3 separate regions of the Homo sapiens genome follow, and all the other regions are linked to region 1. Evidence: promoter capture Hi-C in 16 types of primary human blood cells and fetal thymus (Javierre and others, 2016). All regions are on one chromosome and are shown on one strand. The core of a region is centred on a gene start or on the middle of the fragment in contact, and the rest is flanking DNA. Distances in the headings are between cores, read along the strand shown. Region 1 holds the start of ZNF267 (zinc finger protein 267). Region 2 holds the start of ITGAD (integrin subunit alpha D). Region 3 holds the start of RUSF1 (RUS family member 1).

Region 1 (4,060 bases), core at 654-3,153:
TAGAATGTTAGGCCTTGATTTCTTAAACTCAGCCTTCAGCCATTTTCCCAAATTATTCTACATGTTTCCAAGACATTTCAGAAGCATTCTCTGGTGGGGATTATTTCCAATTGTGAAGAGTACTAGAAGGATGAGAATCAAAAGGAATCTTTCTTCTATCGCAAAAGAGTCAATCTCCAGGATTTCAAAGGCCTAGGGAAGCTGCTTGAGTTGTGAGGTCCATGGAGGTGCATGGGCTTTGGAGTCAGGCAGAGTTGATCCTGAGTTCCAGCCCAGCCCCTTAGTAGGCCCTAAGGACTCCCGTGGTGCTGTCACAAGCAGTGCTGCCTTTGGGAGCCCCTAACCTCCTGTCTTTTCTCCCTTCAGTGTGGGAAAGGGGTTTGGTCAGCCAGTGGTGTCAGCAGCCCTGTCCCACACCCGTTGTCTACACCTAATCTGGTGGCAGGGAGGCCACAGAGTGCAGCGACTAGAACTGGGTGAGAGGGTGAGAGGCAGCCATGCCCCAGGCCAAGACAAGTGCATGGAATCCTGACTGTCAGCAATCAGGGATGTTTCTGCTTTGGGGAGGGAAGCATTTGTTCCACACGTCTCACTGAATAAGGCACAGAGCCTGATCTGTCCCAAGTGGGAGTTTAACCAAGCTAGATGGCGGCCGAGGGCCCTGGCCCAGTTTGACACCCACCTCCTCTCCCACCTTCTACTCAGCCAGAAGACTAGGAGAATCTACTCAGCCGGAAGACTACGAGGTGCTGCAGCGCCACTAGCTCCAAGACTCCAGAAAAACAGGAATAGGGCATTCTGGCAGGTCAAAGCAGACAGAATACTTGAGCTCAGGAGTTGGCGAACTGACTATTAACCTGTAGCCCCAGTTACTTGGGAGGCTAAGGTGGGAGGATCGCTTGAGCTCAGGAGATGGAGACCAGCCTGGGCAACATGGTGAAACCTCATCTCTACAAAAAATACAAAAATCAGCCGGGCATGGTGGCATGTGCCTGTAGTCCCAGCTACTCAGGAGGCTGAGGTGGGAAGATTGCTTGAGCCCCGGAGGCTGCAGTGAGCCATGACTGCACCACTGCACCAGCCTGGGCAATAGAGTGAGACCCTGTCTCAAAACAAAAGCAAAAACCAGAGGTAGGGCTGAGGAGTCCGTGGCCACAGAGCCTGAGCCAGCACGGCCCAGAGGAACTGAGCTCCCAGCCCTGTCGCTGCCAAGGACCCTTCTTCCCTGAGCTTGAAGGGATTGAGAAGGAGAGACAGACGGACAGTCAGCGGCCCCGTTACCAGTGATGCAGACTCCAGGAGATGCGGGCAGAGTTGTAGATTAGAAGAATAGGCCAGCCCCTCTTCCACGTTCCACCACGGCCCGCAACATCCTCCTGGGACCCCAGCCTGCATGCCCCTATAAGATGCTTTTGCACTGGTTCAGTCTATGTATCATGCGAGGGCCTAATTGAAAACACGTGAATGAAGTGTACGGCCTTCTGTTCCCAGCTGAGGGGCCCCCTCCCACGGTGGCGTTAGCAGTGGGGTACAGTGCGGTAAGAGAGGTGCTAAGGGACGGGATGAGGGTCTTTCTTGCTTTAAAGGTGTCTAAATATACTTCTTCTTAAACTTAATTAGCTAATAAGATGTCTTATACAAGCAGAACCAGGTAAGGGAAAGAGCAAGTGTATTTCAAGTCGCAGCTCACCCCTTAATTAGCTGTAATACCCGCAGCAGGCGGCCCCACCTCAATGAGCCAGTCTCCCTTTCAAAAAAAAAAAAAAAAAAGGCACTAATAATGAGGGGGCGGGGCATGGAGCTTTATCCAATCAGGGGCGCTGGAGTGGAAACCGTCCAATCAGGAGTGAAGCCGGAGAGCAGGGGCGGCTTCCGGGATTTGGCGGGGGCCTTCGTCGGCTCCAGTTAGAGCTCGGGTCTCCTCGCCACAGCTCCGAGTCTTTCGTTCTGGGAGGCCCAGGCGGCTTCGCGTTCTGAGAATAAACAGAACCTCTGTTGCTCTGCGACTTGCAGGCACTGGGAGATTCGTAGCTAAGACGCCAGGGCATCCCGGAAGCTGGGAAATGGTGAGTGTGCGGGGTCGGGGGTCCCCAGAGGGAGGGAGGGCGGTGGTCGGAAGCGGCGGGAACCCGCTGTAGGGGCACCCGGGCCTCCCCGCAGTCAGCCTCGGGGTCTGGGCCCCGAGTCCCAACTGGTGCAGCTCGGCCCTCGGTCCCCTCCGCTGCAAGATGGCGGCCAGGCCGGCAGCCGGGACCCCGCGTGTCCTGTCCCATCCCGACCCCGCAGAGCGACCTCGTCCCTGGCCGGAGCCCTCTCTGGGCAGCTCCGCGTCGCAGCCCCGCGTCTCCCCCAGATTGTGCGGTGAGGACGGGAGCGTCTCAGGGGAGACCCAGGTTCGGTGTGTGGGAAGAAACCGTGCCCTGTGGGGTCCTCAGTCACTACTCCTCTTAAGAATTAAAGGGAGTCACTGTTAAAACGTTGAAGAATTTGAGCAAATAGCGATTTGTGACATGGGAAGCCTGCAGTCCTGGTTTGTGGTTCGGAGATCCCCAGAGGGGCTTGAAGGAAAGGTTTTTATAAGGTGCATGAGGAAGCAGACCAAATTAACCGATGGGTTACAGTTTGTAGTTGCCTTATTTAGACTATGCAGGTGGAGGTGAATTGGAGCTTTGTGGTTCGTTAAGTCTGAATTTTGTTTTCCCCTAAAGTTGTAATTTACAAGAAAAGCATTTGAGTTTGGTTTTGGTTTTTCTCCCTAGAAACCTGGGGCACTATAACCACTTCCGTATAATCGCCTGCTCATTAATCATCTTAACACTGCCCAGGGGAACTGGTTTTCCCCCTGCGCTTTCCTAACGTGTAGCACGCAGAGTCTCAAGTCCACCACTGTGTTCCCCCAGTCTAACTGGGCTTGCAATAAAATATTAAATTTCCAGTTCCTTCCCGACATTTCCAAAGGCCAACTTCCCCTCTCCAGTTCACATTCTTAACTATTGGTCATTTATTGTACATTTCAGACAGTATTTTACTCATTAATCATGATTTCACAGAGCAGTGGATGACACTTTTTTAAAGATTTGTGTTTTTTTGGCATACATTTCACGTGAGAGGAAAGCAGAGAATAAAAAATCCCTGACACTCCACTGCAAAAAAAACTGTGCCTCTTTTTCATTCATCTTCCCCAGGCACAGACACGTTATCGGAAAGAATGTCTTTTGACTTGAGGTTTTGCTTTGGAAACTTTACAGGGCCCTGTATAGCCACCCTCTATCCAGTCTTTTCCTGTTCCTGAATTTCAGAACTGTCTGGGATGACTCAAGATGCCCACAGTGGCCATGTCTCCTGGAGTGTTTAGTGACTGTCAGCCCCAGGTCACCTCCTGTTAGAGGACCGCCCAAGGTATGGAAATGTAGTCCCTCAGGGGAGCAGCTGGATGCCCTGGGGCTGAGAGAAATCTCCTGGGACACCCTTAACCTAAAAAGATAACCCCTTGGGACATAAGGATTTTATTTCTTCAAAGCTAGTTTTCATCCCTTGGAGACACATTGCTGGTCAGCCAATCGTTTGCTGGTATTGAGGGGAAACAGTCACAAATGATTCCTGCCCCCTAGATTCATTCAGATTTGTGAAGGGAGAAAAACTCCCAAAGGACCAAAAAACAAAAACCCCACCCCAGTGAGGTGGTGCAAACTCGGCTGCGGTGTCCATGGGGCACAGTGCAGGATCTGGGAGGATGGTCCCTGAGCATTTTAATGAGCAGTATTGGGGTAGGAGAATGTCTCAAATGATACCGTGACCTGACTTGACACTTGAGCCAGATATGTCTGTATTCCAACAGCATTACCACTCCCTGAGTTTGCTGCCTTAGATTGTTCATTTATTTCTACTTCAGTTTTTCAGTTAGTGTAAATTTCATCAGTAGAGCTTGAAAGATAAAAAACATTTCCAAGGCCATGAAAGGTGGATTTCAGAAAATTAAAATATCAAGTCATACTTCATTGTTAAAAATTCTTACTATCTTTTTTTTCAGCAGAATGAGTGTAGTAAGTTTCTCAGGTTT
Region 2 (4,060 bases), core at 1,164-3,663, 480 kb before region 1:
GATATAGAAATGTGTAAAAGATGAGGTGTGGTGAAGATGGAGAAAATGAAGAGCTCTTTAAATTTCTGAATTATGAAGAATCACCAACAAATTATTTTGTGGTTCCAAATACAGGGAGAAGTTCACAGATCCACAGAACTGATGACAGGGTGCGGCCAGCCACAAACCTTTCAGCACAAGAGGGAGAAGGCTGCCGCTCCACTTTGCCTGGGCAGTCTTTGTAAGGCAGTAGATAAGTCAGCCTCGAAGTTAGCAATCACAGCCCTCGGCTCGGTTTCCTGCAAGGGCATCGTTAATGCATCACAATTAATTTCTTCTGTCCATTAAATGTCAGCTCTCAAGTAAATTGATGTAAAATTTTTGTATAGAAAACTATTTCATATTATTTGCACTTGATGTTTAATTACATTTTAAATGTTTTGTTTGTTTCATTTTGTTTTGTTTTTGAGACAGAGTCTTGCTCTGTTGCCCACGCTGGAATGCAGTGGTGTGATCTTGACTCACTGCAACCTCTGCCTCCTGGGTTTAAGCGATTCTCCTGCCTCAGCTTCCTGAGTAGCTGGGATTACAGGCGTGCACCACCATGCCTGGCTAATCTTTGTATTTTTAGTAGAGATGGGGTTTCACCATGTTGGCCAGGCTGGTCCCGAACTCCTGACCTCAAGCTATACACCTGCCTCAGCCTCCCAAAGTGCTGGAATTACAGACATAAGCCACTGTGCCCAGCCAAATGTTTTAAATAATTGTCACATATATATACAAAATAATTTATGTTATAGGTAGGGATCTTGTTATATTTTAACCTTCAAAGTATATTCCTAAGCTTTTTATTTATTTTTTATTTTTTATTTATTGAGACAGTCTTGCTCTGTCGCCCAGGCTGGAGTGCAGTGGCGCAATCTTGACTCACTGCAAACTCTACCTCCTGGGTTCAAGCGATTCTCCTGCCTCAGCCTCCTGAGTAGCTGGGATTACAGGTGCGCACCACCATGCCCAGCTAATTTTTGTATTTTTAGTAGAGACGGGGTTTCACCATATTGGCCAGAGCTGGTCTCAAACTCCTGACCTCAGGTGATCCATCCACCTCAGCCTCTCAAAGTGCTGGGATTATAGGTGTGAGCCACTGCGCCTGGCCTATTCCTAGCCTTTTATATATAGACCTTTTTCTTTTTCACATTTTAAAGGAACTTTTATGTTTAATCATGGAATATTTCAAACATACAGAAAAATCACAGAAAATAAATAACAACCACTCATTTATCTTCTCCCCAACCCCATGTAATAAATATTAAAATATTGTGTTAAATGCTAAATTTAACACATGCTAAAGGTTCCTGGCTGGATGTGGTGGCTCACGCCTGTAATCCCAGTACTTTGGGAGGAGGAGGTGGGAGGATTGCTTGAGTCCAGGAGCTCGAGACCAGCATGGGCAACATAGTGCGATCTCGTCTCTACAAAAAACAAAAAAATTAGCTGGGCATGGTGGTGTGCATCAGTAATCCCAGTGACTGGGAGGCTGAGGTGGGAGAATTGCTTGAGTCTGGGAATTTGAGGCTGCAGTGAGCCCTGATCATGCCACTGCATTCCAGCATGGGCGACATAGCAAAACTTGTCAAAAAAAAAAAAAGTTTCCTCTCTGCCCCACCATAGACAACCACTCTTCTGATTTCTATCTTCGTAGATGAATTTTGCCCATTCTCTTGTATATGAAAGGAACCAGACATTAGGCATTCTGGTGTCTGGTTTCTTTCACTTAAGATAAAATTGAGTTAACCTGTATTGTTGTACAGAACTGCAGTTTGTTCTTTGTTATTTATTGTAAAGACAGGGTCTGGCTATGTTGCCTAGGCTGGTCTCGAACTGTTGGCCTCAAGCAATCCACCTGCCAAGCTCTGGGACCACAGGCATGAGCCATGGCATCTGATCTGTAGTTTGATCTTATTTCTTGCTGAGTAGTAGCCCATGGCATGACTTTATTATTTTGGGTGTCCATTCTCCTCTGGAGGGGCTCTGCTTTTTGAAACCACACCCTGGCCTAGCTCCCCTTCTCCCTGCCTCTCTGCCGGCTCACATCCACATGCCAAGACCTCTGCAGCCATTCTGCTTCCTGTCCTTCCACTCCTGTGGGACCTCAGAGAGCTACGGGGCTCCCTGGGTACCAACTGGCTCCTGAGGCCTGGGGGAGGGTGGTCTTCTGGGAGAAGGAAGCCAGGTCCCTGCAGGTTGTGGAGGGGGACAGAATGAGGGTTTTTCCCCAGGGTGTTGTTGGCCCCTGCCCCCACTTCTGTTCCATAATTAACCACGCCCCTCCTACCCACTGTGCCCCTCTTCCTGCTGTGTGGAGGCCCTGAATCATTATTTTAACTACCCCCTGGGAGGGTGAGCACCTTCTGTGCTCTGTCCCCAACCTTCCACTTCCCCTCAACGCGCTGCTCAGGGATGACCTTCGGCACTGTGCTTCTTCTGAGTGGTAAGTGGGGCCAGGGTGCTGGGGAGAAGCTTGGAGGAGTTCTGAGGGGACTCCATCTGGGAGGGCAGGCTGGGGGCTGGTGGTCGGCTCCAACCACTCTTATGAGGAGCTGAGGCAGGGGAGTGCTTCATGTGCGAGTGGCCCGGAGTCAGTAGAGTGTGACCTGAATGAAGAGGGGCTCAGGGGCTGTGCTCAGGTGGCGACTAAGCTACCTCTCCAGCTGGCTATGTTGTCCCAGGCTTCCCTGCTCCCACTCATGGAGTCCCTGGTGTGGGTGACAGAGGTCTCCCCAGCCTCCCCCGGGAGTGGAAGGCCACAGAAGCCACCAGGGAGGGGGAAAGGTTGGACATCACCTCCCTGGGCCTGTTTCCCCCAAGTCCTGACTGCACGTAGGGAAGAGGCCCCCTGCTGAAAACTGCATCAGAGTCACATTCACGTGCCATCAAAAATCAGGCTTGGCTGGGTGCGGTGGCTCATGCTTATAATCCCAGCACTTTGGGAGGCCGAGATGGGCGTATCCCCTGAGGTCAGGAGTTTGTGACCAGCCTGGCCAACATGGTGAAACCCCATCTTTACCAAAAATATAAAAATTAGCCGGGCATGGTGGCGTGCACTTGTAATCCCAGCTACTTGGGAAGCTGAGGCAAGAGAATCGCTTGAACCCAGGAGACGGAAGTTGCAGTGAGCTGAGATCGTGCCGTTGCACTCCAGCCTCAGCAACAGAGCGAGACTCCATCTCAAAAAAAAAAAAAAAAAAAAGAAAAAAAAGAAAAAGAGGCTGGGAGGTCCTAGGGATTGGGGCTTCTTTAACTCCCAGCCTCCCCGCCCACCAAATATTCCTCAGTCCTGGCTTCTTATCATGGATTCAACCTGGATGTGGAGGAGCCTACGATCTTCCAGGAGGATGCAGGCGGCTTTGGGCAGAGCGTGGTGCAGTTCGGTGGATCTCGGTAGGCCCCACTCACCCTCCTTCCCCAACCTCCACTACATCAAGTCCTGTGGATGGGTACACGTGGGTTACCCCAGGGAGGTGTCCTGGAGGAAGGCCAGCAGGGGTGAGAAGTCTTCCCTTGGCTCCTTGGAGGCCCTGACATCAGCACCTATTATTCTCAATCCCAGGAAAGGCCACAAAACTCTAGACAAGACCCTACCTTACCTCGGGAGGGAAGCCTTGAACCTGCCTCCCAGGCAGGGCCCACTTCTTGGGGCCAGTATGGTCACACAGGGCCCACACTCATTAACTTTGGAGTTTAATGTTCTGCCCTTGACCTCTTGAAATTCCTGATTATTTTTATTTTTATTTTTACTCCAGCTCTGTTACCCAGGCTGGAGTGCAGTGGTGCAATCACAGCTTACTGCAGCCTCAAACTCTCGGGCACAAGTGATCCTCTCACCTCAGCCTCCTGAATAGCTGGGACCACAGGTGCATGCCATCATGCCTGTTTTTTGTTTTGTTTTGTTTTACTTTTTACAGAGATGGAGTCTTGCTATGTTGTCCAGACTGGCTGAACTCCTGGGCTCAAGCAATCCTCCTGCCTTGGCCTCCCAAAGTGCTGGGATTACAGGTGTGAGCCACCCTGTCTTGCCAAT
Region 3 (4,060 bases), core at 673-3,172, 370 kb before region 1:
CTCCAAATGCATTCCAAAAATACGGCCAACAAGCCGGGCGCAGTGGCTCACGCCTATAATCCCAGCACTTTGGGAAGCTGAGGCGAATGGATCACCCGAAGTCAGGAGTTCGAGACCAGCCTGGCCAACATGGTGAAACTCTGTCTCTACTAAAAATACAAAAAATTAGCGGGGCAGGGTGGCACATGCCTGTAATCCCAGCTACTTGGGAAGCTGAGGCAGGAGAATCGCTTGAACCCGGGAGGAGGAGGCTGCAGTGAGCTGAGATTGTGCCACTGCACTCCTGCATCCCAGCCTGGGTGACAGTGAGACTACGAGTCTGGAAAAAAAAAAATAGAGATGGGGGTCTCCCTATGTTGCCCAGGATGCCTCAGCCTCCCAAAGTACGAGGATTAAAGGCGTGAGCCACCGTGCCCGGCCCAGTTTTCTCAGTCTTAATGGTAAAGGTGTAAACAGGAAGCTCCTGTTTTCTCAAAAAAATCCAGAGAGGCTCACAAGGGATGTGGCCAGACTGATGCTACGAATGGAAAGCGCTTTTCCTTAGATCTATTAGGTTGGCTCAAATGTAATTGCGGGTTTTCCATTACCTTTAATGGCAATAACGACAAAGAAACCCCGCAATTACTTTTGCACCAGCCTAATAAATATCCCCTGCGAGCAGTAGTGAAAGACAAAGGACAGTGGCAAAAGCCATGGGGCCTCCTCGTGTAGAACATGTAACAATTTCCCTTTTCTGTTCTATTTCCCTCTCTGGGTGGCATGGTACCAAACTGTATTTTTTTTCCTTAAACAATTTTTTAAAAGCTGTACATATTCAGCAGATAGTCACTCTATTATTTACAGCATCATCTGGTATCCCAGAGCATACACAATACCTTCCATTCTTTCCAGGCTCTCCTCTCTCCTTCTCAGGACCAACTATATCTTTTTTTTCTGGAGCTCACCAATTTCCCCTATCCTGGGCAGCTGGCAGTTTTATTCCATCAATTGCATTCTTATGCAATCTTCCACAAAGAGAATAGGGATAAAGGGGAGGGGACGGGATTTGGGATCCAGATGATTGAGACTCAGAAGTCTGTGTGGGGAATGGAGTGCGGCTGCTAGGCTGGTGAGTGGGATGAGGGTCTTCCAGATGTGGGAAGTAAGACTGGGTTACAAAGCACCACTCTAATCACTGGGGAGACCTGCCTGAATTCTACCTAATGGGGCACGAGTCCATACATATATACACATAAGAGCCCAGCGAAAGCAGGGCTGAAAGCAGCAATACGTGAGGCTCCAGGGGTGCAGCTCACCTTTCACGAGCCAGGTGGCCGTGGCAGCTGAAACAGTGGCTTTTGCGTTCCCCACCCCTATGCCCAGCAAGACTGCCTGGGTGGCTAGGGAGCCGGAGAGGCTGGAAGCAAACGCCTGGAGAAGAAAACAAGTAGGGTGAGAAGCGGGCGTAGGAGCGTGGCGGTCTAAGTGCCTTCATCTGTTCTTGTTCTTGGTGTATGAGGCATGTCAGACCCCCCGCCCCCCGGGCTCCGAGTCTCAGTCACCCGTCCATTATTGGGGAGGGAGGAGTGGCCTGCACTGTCCTCTGCCCCAGACGACCGAGCTGACCTGCACGGAATCCCACAGCTGGTAGGGCAAGTAGTCCGGGCTGACGCTATCAGGGAAGCCCTGAGGCAGGAACACGGCCTGGAGCCCGGAGAGGGGCGGTGAGGGGGCCCCGGAAGCCCCCACTTCGCCCGCATCTCGTCCTTCAGGTTTGACCGTGAAGGCCCTGGAGAGCCCCCACCAGCGCCAGCCCCCGACCTCCCACTGCAGGCTCCCGTCCGCGGCGGCGCGGCAGCCCCGTGCCTCCCCGGAGCCGAACTGCTCGGAACACAGCGGGGTCTCCAAACCCGCGTCGTCAGCCATGCCGAGCTTTTGGATCCCAGCCCCGCCCCTGCCGCACGGTGGACGTGGCAGGCGGCACTTCCGGCTGGGCTACCGCGGCTGCAGAGGGACATCTTTCAAGAACAGGCGCCGGCCTCGGCGTCCGCCGCGCAGTTAGGAAACTGACTGTCGCTCTCTCCGGCCTCGGCGCTGCTTCGGACGCCCCGGCACCGGCCCCCGTTGCTTTGTAGCATTCTGCAGCTGGGCTGCAGGCGCCGTGGGCCTCCGCCAGTTGTGTTCGAGACGCGGTTCGGCCACAGAAGTTTTAGCTTGTGACTTTTGGCAAGTCAGTGGCCCTCTCTGGGCCTCAGGTGCCTTTTTTGCTGTGAGACCAGCGACTGTATTTTTAACCCTGATTTTATCCCTAGATCTACCCAACACATAGTAGGTGCTCAAAAGATATTTATGAGTGAATGAATGCATCATGAGAAGAAATTGGACCAGATGAGGCCCTGTGAAGCTGCTTGGGTCTTTTTTTGTTCTTTTTTTTTTCTCTCTTCTGAGTGTCCCTGGCCTGGACTAGAAATTCTCCATCCTTCGGCCTTCTGCGAGACTGCAGGAACATTACTTTTGAAGGATGCTAAGGAATCCGAGGGATGAAAAAAATCAAGAGATTGCAATGATGTCACAAAACAAGGAAACAAGGCAGGAAGTTCTTGTGTGTTTTTTTGCGGGAGAGAGTCCATGAAATTGGGGGGAGTCCAAAGAGGGAGTGTTTCTGTCCTTGGAACTCACCTTTTCTTCTTTCCATTTCTCCTCTTCTCCTTCCCATCTAGTGCAGCATCTTCACTCCGAAGCAGAAATTTGCCAAAAAAGCATCCTCTTTTTATCAGAAAATAAAATATCCTGGTTTCTTAGCCTGGCATTCTTGGATCCCCACAGTTTGATCCCAACCGACAACTCCTTATTTGAAACTTCAGATTCTCCCAAACCGTCACCTTCCTCGTGGACTTAATCCTGGAAGGCCCTTCTACCCCACTTCGCCTTATCTCACACAAACACAGTCTCTCTCTGACTGAGATAAACTTGAACACTTCTTTTCTTTTCTTTTTTTTTTTCTTTAAATTTCGGGTTTCAAAATACAAATGGCCTAATCACAACATTTCTGTAATGTTGTCTAAATTCAGGTACTGGTTTGAATAGAGGACAAAAATAAAACAAGGTTTGAAGACTAAGTACTTTAAAAACATATTTATTTAAATAGAGGCAGGGCCTCCCTATGTTGCCCAGGCTGCTCTCAAACTCCTGGCCTCAAAAGTGATCCTTGGGCTGGGCGTGGTGGCTCACGCCTGTAATTCCAGCACTTTGGGAAGTCGAGCCAGGTGGATCACTTGAGGTCAGGAGTTTAAGACCAGCCTGGCCAACATGTTGAAACCCCATCTCTACTAAAAATACAAAAATTAGCTGGGCGTGGGGGTGGTGTGGCCATAATCCCAGCTATCCGGGAGGCGGAGGCAAGAAAATCGCTTGAACCGTGCAGTTGTCATTAACTCCGTGTTTGTTATCTCTTTTTTACCAATGGTTTGCCAGTTTCTTCTACAAATACCTGTTGCTACCTATGTGCTCATTGGGATAGTGAGCAAAAACAAACAAGGGTCTTGGTCTTTTGGAACTTATATTAGGGAAGGATATTGATCAAATCATACAAATAAATGCAAAGTTGGAACTATTTCAATTGCTGTAGAGGGGTACATGTTATTTAATATGAGGACTTTTAGAAGGAGAATTGAGCTAATCAGTGGAATCAAGGGAAACTTTTTTTTTTGAGATGGAGTCTCCCTCTGTCACCCAGGCTGGAGTGCAGTGGCACAGTCTTGGCTTACTGCAACCTCCACCTCCTGGGTTCAAGTGATTCACCTGCCTCACCCTCCGGAGTAGCTGGGGTTACAAGCATTCACCACCACACCCAGCTAATTTTTGTATTTTTAGTAGAGACGGGGTTTTGCCATGTTGGCCAGGCTGGTCTTGAACTCCTGGCCTCAACTCATCTGCTTGCCTCGCCTCCCAAAGTGCTGGGATTACAGGCATGAGCCACTGTGCCCGGCCAAGGGAAATTTTTTAACAAAAATTTAAGTTGGGGTCTCTCTGTGTTGCCCAGGCCTCCCGCCTCGGTCTTCCAAAATGCTAGGATTATAGG

Evidence for each region. Contacts are between HindIII fragments. The CHiCAGO score rates a contact against its expected background, and 5 or more counts as called.
Region 2: the fragment with the promoter of ITGAD here is called in contact with the fragment with the promoter of ZNF267 in region 1 in 9 of 17 cell types (monocytes, megakaryocytes, M2 macrophages and 6 more); the score reaches 6.7 in monocytes.
Region 3: a contact is called between the fragment with the promoter of RUSF1 here and the fragment with the promoter of ZNF267 in region 1, in 12 of 17 cell types (megakaryocytes, naive CD8 T cells, M0 macrophages and 9 more). The highest score is 12.4, in megakaryocytes.

What each region holds. Positions count from the first base shown.
Region 1 is chr16:31,871,904-31,875,963 of GRCh38, forward strand. It overlaps ZNF267 (zinc finger protein 267), which reads left to right and starts at 1,904. Exons shown (of 4, transcript NM_003414.6): 1 at 1,904-2,066. The coding sequence starts at 2,064. RefSeq lists an enhancer at 1,725-2,019 and silencers at 1,906-1,955, 2,106-2,185. The HindIII fragment of the contact is 12,710 bases long and covers 1-4,060 here.
Region 2 is chr16:31,390,922-31,394,981 of GRCh38, forward strand. It overlaps ITGAD (integrin subunit alpha D), which reads left to right and starts at 2,414. Exons shown (of 30, transcript NM_005353.3): 1 at 2,414-2,470; 2 at 3,315-3,420. The coding sequence starts at 2,440. The HindIII fragment of the contact is 1,676 bases long and covers 822-2,497 here.
Region 3 is chr16:31,506,469-31,510,528 of GRCh38, forward strand. It overlaps RUSF1 (RUS family member 1), which reads right to left and starts at 1,923. Exons shown (of 13, transcript NM_022744.4): 1 at 1,606-1,923; 2 at 1,296-1,410. The coding sequence starts at 1,905. It overlaps RUSF1-DT (RUSF1 divergent transcript), which reads left to right and starts at 1,996. Exons shown (of 2, transcript NR_186401.1): 1 at 1,996-2,568; 2 at 2,705-3,098. RefSeq lists enhancers at 909-1,624, 1,625-2,339, 1,904-2,473 and silencers at 1,634-1,693, 1,754-1,803. The HindIII fragment of the contact is 29,640 bases long and covers 1-4,060 here.